Regions from separate parts of the Homo sapiens genome. Here regions 1 and 2 are each linked to region 3. The links are contacts of gene promoters, found by promoter capture Hi-C in human tissues and cell types (Jung and others, 2019). All regions are on one chromosome and are shown on one strand. The core of a region is centred on a gene start or on the middle of the fragment in contact, and the rest is flanking DNA. Distances in the headings are between cores, read along the strand shown. Region 1 overlaps RBM14-RBM4 (RBM14-RBM4 readthrough). Region 2 holds the start of EFEMP2 (EGF containing fibulin extracellular matrix protein 2). Region 3 holds the start of YIF1A (Yip1 interacting factor homolog A, membrane trafficking protein).

The links. Contacts are between HindIII fragments. The study calls those that stand out against the background at their distance.
Region 1: a fragment that was not itself captured here is called in contact with the fragment with the promoter of YIF1A in region 3 in 1 of the 25 tissues and cell types used here (hippocampus).
Region 2: the fragment with the promoter of EFEMP2 here is called in contact with the fragment with the promoter of YIF1A in region 3 in 1 of the 25 tissues and cell types used here (spleen).

Annotation. Positions count from the first base shown.
Region 1 is chr11:66,624,201-66,626,947 of GRCh38, reverse strand. All of the region lies in intron 1 of RBM14-RBM4 (RBM14-RBM4 readthrough), which reads right to left. RBM14 (RNA binding motif protein 14) reads right to left here. Exons shown (of 3, transcript NM_006328.4): 2 at 1,270-2,734; 3 at 1-487. The coding sequence ends at 280. Among named protein-coding and RNA genes, the nearest start is that of RBM14-RBM4, 8.9 kb to the right of the region's middle. The HindIII fragment of the contact is 7,128 bases long and covers 1-2,747 here.
Region 2 is chr11:65,871,313-65,874,304 of GRCh38, reverse strand. EFEMP2 (EGF containing fibulin extracellular matrix protein 2) reads left to right here and starts at 1,505. Exons shown (of 11, transcript NM_016938.5): 1 at 1,505-1,622; 2 at 1,944-2,061; 3 at 2,287-2,335; 4 at 2,942-2,992. The coding sequence starts at 1,951. RefSeq lists a silencer at 443-502. The HindIII fragment of the contact is 15,058 bases long and covers 1-2,992 here.
Region 3 is chr11:66,287,781-66,290,618 of GRCh38, reverse strand. YIF1A (Yip1 interacting factor homolog A, membrane trafficking protein) reads left to right here and starts at 1,476. Exons shown (of 8, transcript NM_020470.3): 1 at 1,476-1,664; 2 at 2,327-2,538; 3 at 2,703-2,807. The coding sequence starts at 1,634. RefSeq lists enhancers at 1,160-1,299, 1,167-1,461 and a silencer at 1,400-1,859. The HindIII fragment of the contact is 5,849 bases long and covers 1-2,838 here.

The sequences.
Region 1 (2,747 bases), core at 63-2,562, 340 kb before region 3:
AACATAAAAGAAATTCCCATTCTGGGGAGACGGGAGGCAGGGTAGAGGGGAAACCGCAGATCTAGAGCCAGTAGCAAGATTTGCTGCTGAGGCGAAGGAACAAAGTAGGTTACTGCCGAACACTTAACAGGATCATCTCCTGGGGAAGGCCCACATGGTAGAGGGCATGAAAAACCACAACCAGGAAAGGTATGGGCCAGAGTAGTTATAACCTGGATCTGTAACCCTACCCACCTCTTTTCTCCCTCCCTCCCTGTGGTGCCCCATCCCAGGATGGCCCTACATGCGGCGCTGGTAGCCAGAGTGCATCTGAGCCGCCCGCAGGTAATCATTATAGGAGCCCGAATAGCGTGCGTAATCGGAATGGGCATCGGGCAGGCGACGGTAATCCAGCGAGGACTTTGTCGGCGAGCGGCGGAACGAAAGCTGCGACTCTGATAAACGGCGGTAATCAGAGAGCTCGGCTAAACGCCGGTCGGAACCATACCTAGTCGAGAGAAGAAGACAGTTGGTGAATGAGACAATTGAGGGGAGGACTCCAGGTGGGCATTGGGGAGATGCCAATGGGGACAGGGAGGGTGTGATCACAGTGGTCTCCAAGAGATTGGTCTCCTTTTGTCAGAAGGCTCATCACCCTATCCAGGCCAAAAAAATCAAGCCTGGCTTCAACTCAGTGGGAAATCAAACCCTCCACTGAAGTCCTCCCCTCTGAACTAGCCAAGGTGGATTTTGGTCTACATTCCCACACCACAGCAAACTATCTCCGCCCCTGGGCCCTGCAGAGAAAGACCTTGGTTGTTTATCAACAGAACGGCGGATGAAAGCGAGGTCCCCAACTTCCCAGAGTGGACGCACCTCGTAAACTTGCCTTTAGCCAGTGAATGCCAAAGGGACTACTCTTTAACCCACATCCCTGCCAAAGCCAGGACAACCACGTAATAGGCTTAAGGATCCTTGAGACAGTGGGAAAGGATATGGGCCACAGTCCTGCAGGCAGTAGCTCCAATGACACTTGGGCTAGCCTAGACAGGTGACACTGTGCCTGGCCTGACTAGCAGGTACCACCCCAGGCTGAGCACTATGCTCCACCTGAACCCTGGTGACCAGGAAAGTTCATAGACACTGCTCCCCTCGGCCTCTGGACATCCCACAAAAATAGAGAAGAGAAGACCGAGGGAGGGGCCGATGCCTCCAGTTTCCCTCCCATGCCAACCTCAGCCCCTTGCCCTAAGCCCCAGCTGGGGGCAGAGGCGGGGGGGCATACAGTACCTTTTCGACATGGCGACAGCCTTTTTGTAGGGATCGTCGTAGCTGGCCCGGGGTGGGGAGAGGCGGGTACGCTCATAGGGCGGCGGGGTGCTGTTGGCGTTGGCAACGGCCCCCTGGGACATGGACAGGTAGGCTGCAGACGGCTGACCTGCCCCATCGTAGGCATTGCCTGGCTGGCCGCGGTAGGAGGCAGCAGCCTGGGGATGCTGCTGGGCAGCATAGGAAGCAGCCAATGAGGCTGATGACTGAGTGCGGTAAGGAGCTGCCAGGGTGGCAGAAGGTTGGGCCCCGTAGGCTGCTGCGGCACCATAGGAGCCAGTGGCCGCAGCAGCCGACTGAGCCCCATAGGAGCCTGAAAGGCCCATTGATGCTTGGGCCCCGTAACTATTCAGCTGGGTCTGCACAACCGGCTGGGCCCCATAGGAGCCAGCCATTGGGGTAGTGGCTTGTGCGGCGTAGGCTGCTGGCTGGCTGGCATAGGCAGCAGCTGTGGCTGGCTGTGCCACATAGGCAGCAGGTTGGGAAGAGTAGGAAGCAGCCTGCTGTGCAGCATATGGGGCAGACTGGGCATTGTAAGAGGCCGAGGGCTGGGCATTATATGAAGCTGCCTGGGCTCCATAAGCTAGTGAGGAGGCTGCAGACTGGGCCCCATAGGAGGCTGCCTGAGCCCCGTAGGAGCCTAAGGAGGAAGCTGCTCCCTGGGTGTTGTAGGAAGAAGCAGCTGCACGAACCCCATAGGAAGAGGCAGCCTGGGCGCCGTAAGAGGATGGCTGGTTACCATAGGAGGCAAGGGAGGAACCCTGAGCCCCATAGGAGTTGAGCGAAGAAGCTGCAGCTGCCTGACCCCCATAGGAGGAAAGGGCCGAGGCTGAGGGCTGGGCTCCACCATATGGGCCGAGTGAAGAAGCTGCAGCAGACTGGGAGCTAGGACTAGCCAGCTGGCCCCTGTATGGTGCCCCAAGGGAGACAGAGGGCTGAGCGCGGTAAGAGGCTGCCTGGGCTGTCATGGGCTGAGTCCGATAGCCAACACCCAAAGAGGCAGAAGGCTGGGCCCTGTAGGCAGCTCCCAGTGACACGGACGGCTGGGCCCGGTAGGTAGCTGGCTGGGCCGTCAGAGGAGCCACATAAGAGGCTCGGGGAGGTGAACGGCGCAGAGGGCTGCGGTCGCGACCAAAGAAGGGTGGTGTGGGCTGACGGGCTTGCCCATCAAAGCCACCAGTGCTGTTGCCAAAAGCCTGCTGGTAGTCGAAGGTGGCAGAGAAGCCACCAGTTCCAGGGAAGGCCGTATCCCCAGCCCCTGGTTTCTTGGTCTTGTCCCCAGACTGGACAGCCAGGCCAGGCCCCTTCTTCTGACCCTTGGTGGAGAGTTCCACGTTGATGCGCTTGCCCTTCACTTCTTTGCCGTTGAGCTGCGCGATTGCGGCTTTGGCATCTGCTTCCTTCTCCATGTGAACAAACGCGTAGTCTGATAAAGCAGC
Region 2 (2,992 bases), core at 256-2,755, 420 kb after region 3:
AGTGTTGGGGTTACAGGCGTGAGCCACCGCGTCGGGCCTATTATTATTATTATTATTTTAAGATGGAGTCTCCCTCTGTCACCCATGGAGTGCAGCAGTGTGATCTGGGCTCTCTGCAACCTCCACCTCCCGAGTTCAGGTGATTCTCCTGCCTCAGGCTCCTGAGTAGCTGCGACTACAGGCACGCGCCACCACGCCTGGCTAATTTTTATATTTTTAGTAGAGACGGGGTTTCACCATGTTGTCCAGACTGGTCTCGAACTCCTGACCTCAGGTGATCCACCTGCCTCGGCCTCTCAAAGTGCTGGGATTACAGGCTTGAGCCACCGCGTCCGGCCCCTAAAGAGCTATTATTTAACCTTCTGCCCCAGCAGCTGGGAGGGATGGTGGTGGCAGAGTGGCGAGGAGCGGGCACTGCGCAGTTCACCTGAGCCCCAGGCGCTCGCCGCGGGACCCACCAGCACGTCCCCTCCTCGGCAGACTCCCTCCCCGGGGTCACGTGGAGGGCGACTGCGGGGATAAGCAGGGATGGCAAGGGGAAAGGAAGGGCGGGCCCCAGGCGGGGGATCCCCGGACACGCAGTGCTTTCCCGCCTGGCCCCGCCCAAAGACGTGGGCAAACAGAGGCCACGCCCTTCCTGGGAGCCAGCCCCGCCCATACTCCGCCCCAAGGACACGCCCCCACTTCGGGCGGAGGCGGAAACCGGGCGGGGGACGCTGGTGCGAGGAGGTCGAGGAGGCGCCTTGGCACCCGACTCTGGCATCCCGCACGTCCGACATCAGCCCTGCCCTCCTTCTCAGGGGCTTCCATTCATTTTGTGCCAAAAGGGAACTGCCGCCCTCGCCCCCAAACTTGTAGCTTTGTGGATGGAGGGTGTGGGGGAGGCCGTGTGTAGTGAAAGGACCACCCGGCTGAAGACGGTCCTGGGGGTGGAGGGCAGGAGGGAGCGAGAAGGACAGTTCTGCTCCTGGGAGCCTCTCGTTCCTGGGCGAGGGTCTGGGGACCCTGGATGAAGTTTTAGGATCTTTTACAATGACGGTCTGGGGCAGAGAATAAAATTTTGCAGGGAGCAGATTGAGGGTCTGGAGGACTGGGTTAGGTGGGCTCTAGGTACCCAGGACGATCTCGGGAGGCGCACAATGAGAATCTGGGGGCTCCAGGATTACGGTGTGGGTGCACAGGATGAAATTCTGGGGGCGCAGATTAGGTAGGACCTAGGTGAGCAGGATGACATTTTTGGTGAGCGTCTGGGGGCCCCCGGGTGAGTCTGGGGGCCTGGCATCAAGGTCGGGGCCCCAGGATCGAGCACTGGGGGACCCTGGTCCGGCGCCGGGAGGCGGCTCCTGGCGGCGCCGCGGGGGACCGGGTAGGGGCCTGTGGCTGGCCGGGGGCGGAGAAGCGGGGGGTCGGGGTCCCTCCCCCTGGCGCTGGCTCAGGAATCCGCCGAAGGGCGGGCGGAGGCGCCGGGGTGGGCCGCGCCGCGGCAGGCGGGCGGGCGGGGGGCGCTTCCTGGGGCCGCGCGTCCAGGGAGCTGTGCCGTCCGCCCGTCCGTCTGCCCGCAGGCATTGCCCGAGCCAGCCGAGCCGCCAGAGCCGCGGGCCGCGGGGGTGTCGCGGGCCCAAGTGAGTGGCTGTGACCGTCCGTGGGGGAGGGCGTGGGCCGGAGTCTCGGCCGAGTCCGCGGCAGCGTAGCGCCCACAGAGGCCCGCGCTCCTCGGCCTTCGCCGCAGGGGCGCGGGGCGGGGGCGGGGTGGCCGGGGCGGGTGGGCCTGGGACCCGGGCCTGGGACCTGGGCCTGTGAGGAGTCGGCCCCCAGCCCTGGGAGGCCCCGAGGCCCAAGCACGGTCCTGAGCGGGCAGTGGCGGGGGCTGGGCTCGGGCTCCCGGTACAGGGAGTTGAGGTGCCGCGGGCAGAGGCCCCTGACCCGTGTCCACCATCTCGCAGCCCCAGGATGCTCCCCTGCGCCTCCTGCCTACCCGGGTCTCTACTGCTCTGGGCGCTGCTACTGTTGCTCTTGGGATCAGCTTCTCCTCAGGATTCTGAAGAGCCCGACAGCTACACGGTGGGGACAGTGAGGGCCGCTGGCCTGGGACAGGAAGGGTAGGGAGGAAGAGACCGGGACCCAGGGTGACTGCTGCCGGGGAAGTCTTCCTCCCCTGGCTGGTGGAGAGCTGGGGGCCATTGTTTGGAGCAGGCCGGAGGGTGGCCAGGCTCAGGCCCTAGTCTTGGCCTGGCCAGTTGGAGGAGATCTTAGGGTGACCACTGGCCACTTCTGGTTCCCTTCCAGGAATGCACAGATGGCTATGAGTGGGACCCAGACAGCCAGCACTGCCGGGGTGTGTGTGCCTGGGGGACCAAACACCCCCAGGAACCCGGAAAGGGATTGATAGCTGCTTTCCAAGGGACAGCCCCACCTCCAAGAACTGCCGTGGGAGCCCAGCAGCCCGTTCTATGCCCAGCTCTGCTACACAGAGGCCAGCTCTGGCTCTCTGGAGGCCAGTTGAGCTAGGGGTGGCCTCATCCTCTCCCAGAAACCCAGGAAACCTTGTCCCTACCCCTCAGAGGAGCTGGATCCTGTACGCCTTCTCTGAACCACTCTCCTGTCCCAGCTCTTTGTCTCATCACAACCTGGGAGGGTAGCGTCCCCAGGGGTGGGTAAGGAGGCCCCCCATCTTGGGCTGAGCTAGGGCTAGGGCCGTGGGGAGGGATAGAGACCCACTTGCAGGCCGAGAATGAGGGCAACAGTGGGAACAGCTGCCCCATCTCCAGCCTTGGCCAACCCTGGGGAGGGGTCCTGAGCAGGCAGACTTAGCTTGTTGAGCAGAGTGGGAAGGCTTTGCTGGGGCCACACATCTCAGAGAAGGCCGAGCTGGGTTCCTGCCTCCGCTCCCTCCAGGGCCAGCCCAGGAGACTGGCTGTGCCCAGCAGGCCCCTCTCTGCAGATGTCAACGAGTGTCTGACCATCCCTGAGGCCTGCAAGGGGGAAATGAAGT
Region 3 (2,838 bases), core at 227-2,726:
TCTATTTATTATGAATTTCTTGGACACAGATGTTTATTGGGTGTCTTCCATATGCAAGTATTGTGCTTGGCACTGGGAAGACAAGGGTGGAAGTGGAGAATGACAACAGGGCCTGTCCTCATGGAACTTACATGCAGGGCAAATTGGGTGCACCCAGAGGGGGCCTAGAACCCAACCTATGACCTCCACCCCTGACCGGGTCAGGTCTCTGTCCCCTTTGTCCCTCTGAGAGGCACGAGATGAACTAACTCTTAAAGATAACTAGGCTTATGGACAAGTGGATATGAGGGGGAAGGGCATCCCAGGTGGAGGGGACCTCTGGGCAATGGCACTGCAATCAGACCACGTGGGCTGAGTTTGGGGAGCAGGAAGGTCATCTGGTGTAACTGGATACCTGGTAGCTAATTAGAGAGGTCGCAGAGAACCTGCTCATGCTCTCTAGAAAGCGGTGGCTGAAGGTCTGTGAGAGGGAGGCCCCTGAAGACTGTCTCCGCGGGGTTGGGAGTGATCAGAACCTGGGTGGAGAGAAAGGAACCCCCGGGACTACAAGTGAGGCTTAGGGGCCTCACTTCAAGAAGACCACAGGCCCGGCGATGACTCAGGAGTTTAGGCTGCAGCTTCAGGACGCAAATCAGCACACCTCTGCCCCCAAATCTGCTGGACTACGGGAGAGTCTATGGGACAGGCCCGGGGCAGGATCCTGCCCCACCTATACCACCCAATCTCTCAGACTTCGGATCCTCTGGGCCCCAGTTTTGCAGTATGCGTGTATGTGTGCGTGCGGCCACGCGCTCGCTAGGAGCGTGTGGTTCGAGACCCCAAATCTTCCCATACGCAGGCCCCCGGGAGTCTACAGGATGGCGGCTGAGGCGGGAGGACATTTTCAGCACCGGACGACGGACAGCACCCGCGCGGAGAAGAGGAGTGGGAGGCGGGTGGAGTCAGCATCCTGGGGCTTGCTTGGCAGCTCTGTCACTGATAGGTCCGGCCTCCCACCACCACCTCCGGGTCTGCCGGGGCTCCGTTCCAAGATTGGGTGAAGTGTAGGTGACGGGGGAGGAAAACAAGCCCAGAGAGGGAGAAACAGGCGCCCCGAAGGGCAGGGCTTGGTTGGAACTCGACCGCCCCGTTCCCTCCTGGAGTACGTCCCACCAAGGAAGCTTTGCTCCTGACTCCGGCTGCAGGTTACCTCTCGACTCCCTGGTGTAGTCGTGGCAGGGTGCGTCAAGTGCCTCACCGCGCAGGCGCGCAAATAATTCTCGCCCACCTTCTTTCTTAACTCTTCTATTGGCTGTTCCCACCGTGAACTGGCAAGCCCGTGATCCAATCCCAGGCACCGCAAGTCGCTCCGCCTGTCCCTCACCCGGATGTTGCCTTCTGCCGAATCCGCTCAGGCCAGAGCTCGTCAGTGGCCAATTGGGAGAGGGGAGGGGCGAGCCGGCGCCGCCGAAGAGCCAATGGCAGGCGCGGGGGATGACGCCACGGACATGGTGGCCGAGACCGGCGGGGTGGGGGACGTGTCGCGCGGCCGGGTGGCCTCGGTCGGTACCCTGGGCGCGGAGCAGCTGCCTCATTAGTATTCGTACCCACGAGGCGGCGCAGCGGGCCCTCGGGGACAGCGAGCGTCGCGGCCATGGCTTATCACTCGGGCTACGGAGCCCACGGTGCGTGGGGCGCGGGCGGGGCGCGGCGCGGCCGGCGGGGGGAGAGTCGGCGGCGTGGCCCGCTCACCCCGAGGGAGATAGCGACTGGGACCGCCGCCCAGGGCGGGGGTGTCACTCGGGTTCCTGCCCCTCGTAACACTCCAACACGTCCCGGACTTCGCCCTCTCGGCCCAGTCCTGGGAATCCCATGCCGGAGTCGGGCAAAAACGGGGTCCGCCTCCTCCTCCAGAAACTCCTTTGACTGTTGTGAACCTGATGAGGTCCCTGATCACTGTCCAGGGCCTCCAGGTAGCCAGCTGTCGCCTCTCCCAGCTTTGTTCACGGAAGGATGCCCTCCCAGTTATTTTCACCTAGCACACTTCTACTCACTGTGGCTCAGTTCAGAGGTCACTTCCAGTGAGAGGCCTTCAGAAACCCCAAGTGGGCAACCAGTTCTAGGCGCTGCCTCAGCTCTTTCTTTGCCTACATTTAGCAACGGATTTCTCGCAAAGGATCCCTCATCACAGTTTTTTCTCAGTTAGCTCCCCCTCACCCAGCTTGGGGTCCCCTCACTGATCGGTGCCTCCAGGACCCGTGCAGGGCTGTCCAGCCAGGGAAGGGGCGGTGGTTTGGGCTCATGCTTGGTATTTCTGTCATCTACTCTGATACCTCCAAACCCACAGGCTCCAAGCACAGGGCCCGGGCAGCCCCGGATCCCCCTCCCCTCTTCGATGACACAAGCGGTGGTTATTCCAGCCAGCCCGGGGGATACCCAGCCACAGGAGCAGACGTGGCCTTCAGTGTCAACCACTTGCTTGGGGACCCAATGGCCAATGTGGCTATGGCCTATGGCAGCTCCATCGCATCCCATGGGAAGGACATGGTGCACAAGGAGGTGTGGCCTGCCCCCGGGGCACGGGTGGCAGAATTTTTGGCTAGGGCTGGGGCATCATGGGATTCCACCCGATTCCTCACAGTGCCCTCAGGGATGGAGCACACAGAGGGGCACCCTGAGGCCTGGGGTGCGGCTTGCCCACAGCTTCCTCTCTCCCCTCCCAGCTGCACCGTTTTGTGTCTGTGAGCAAACTCAAGTATTTTTTTGCTGTGGACACAGCCTACGTGGCCAAGAAGCTAGGGCTGCTGGTCTTCCCCTACACACACCAGGTGAGCTTCCTACCAAGGGAGCTGGTGGGCC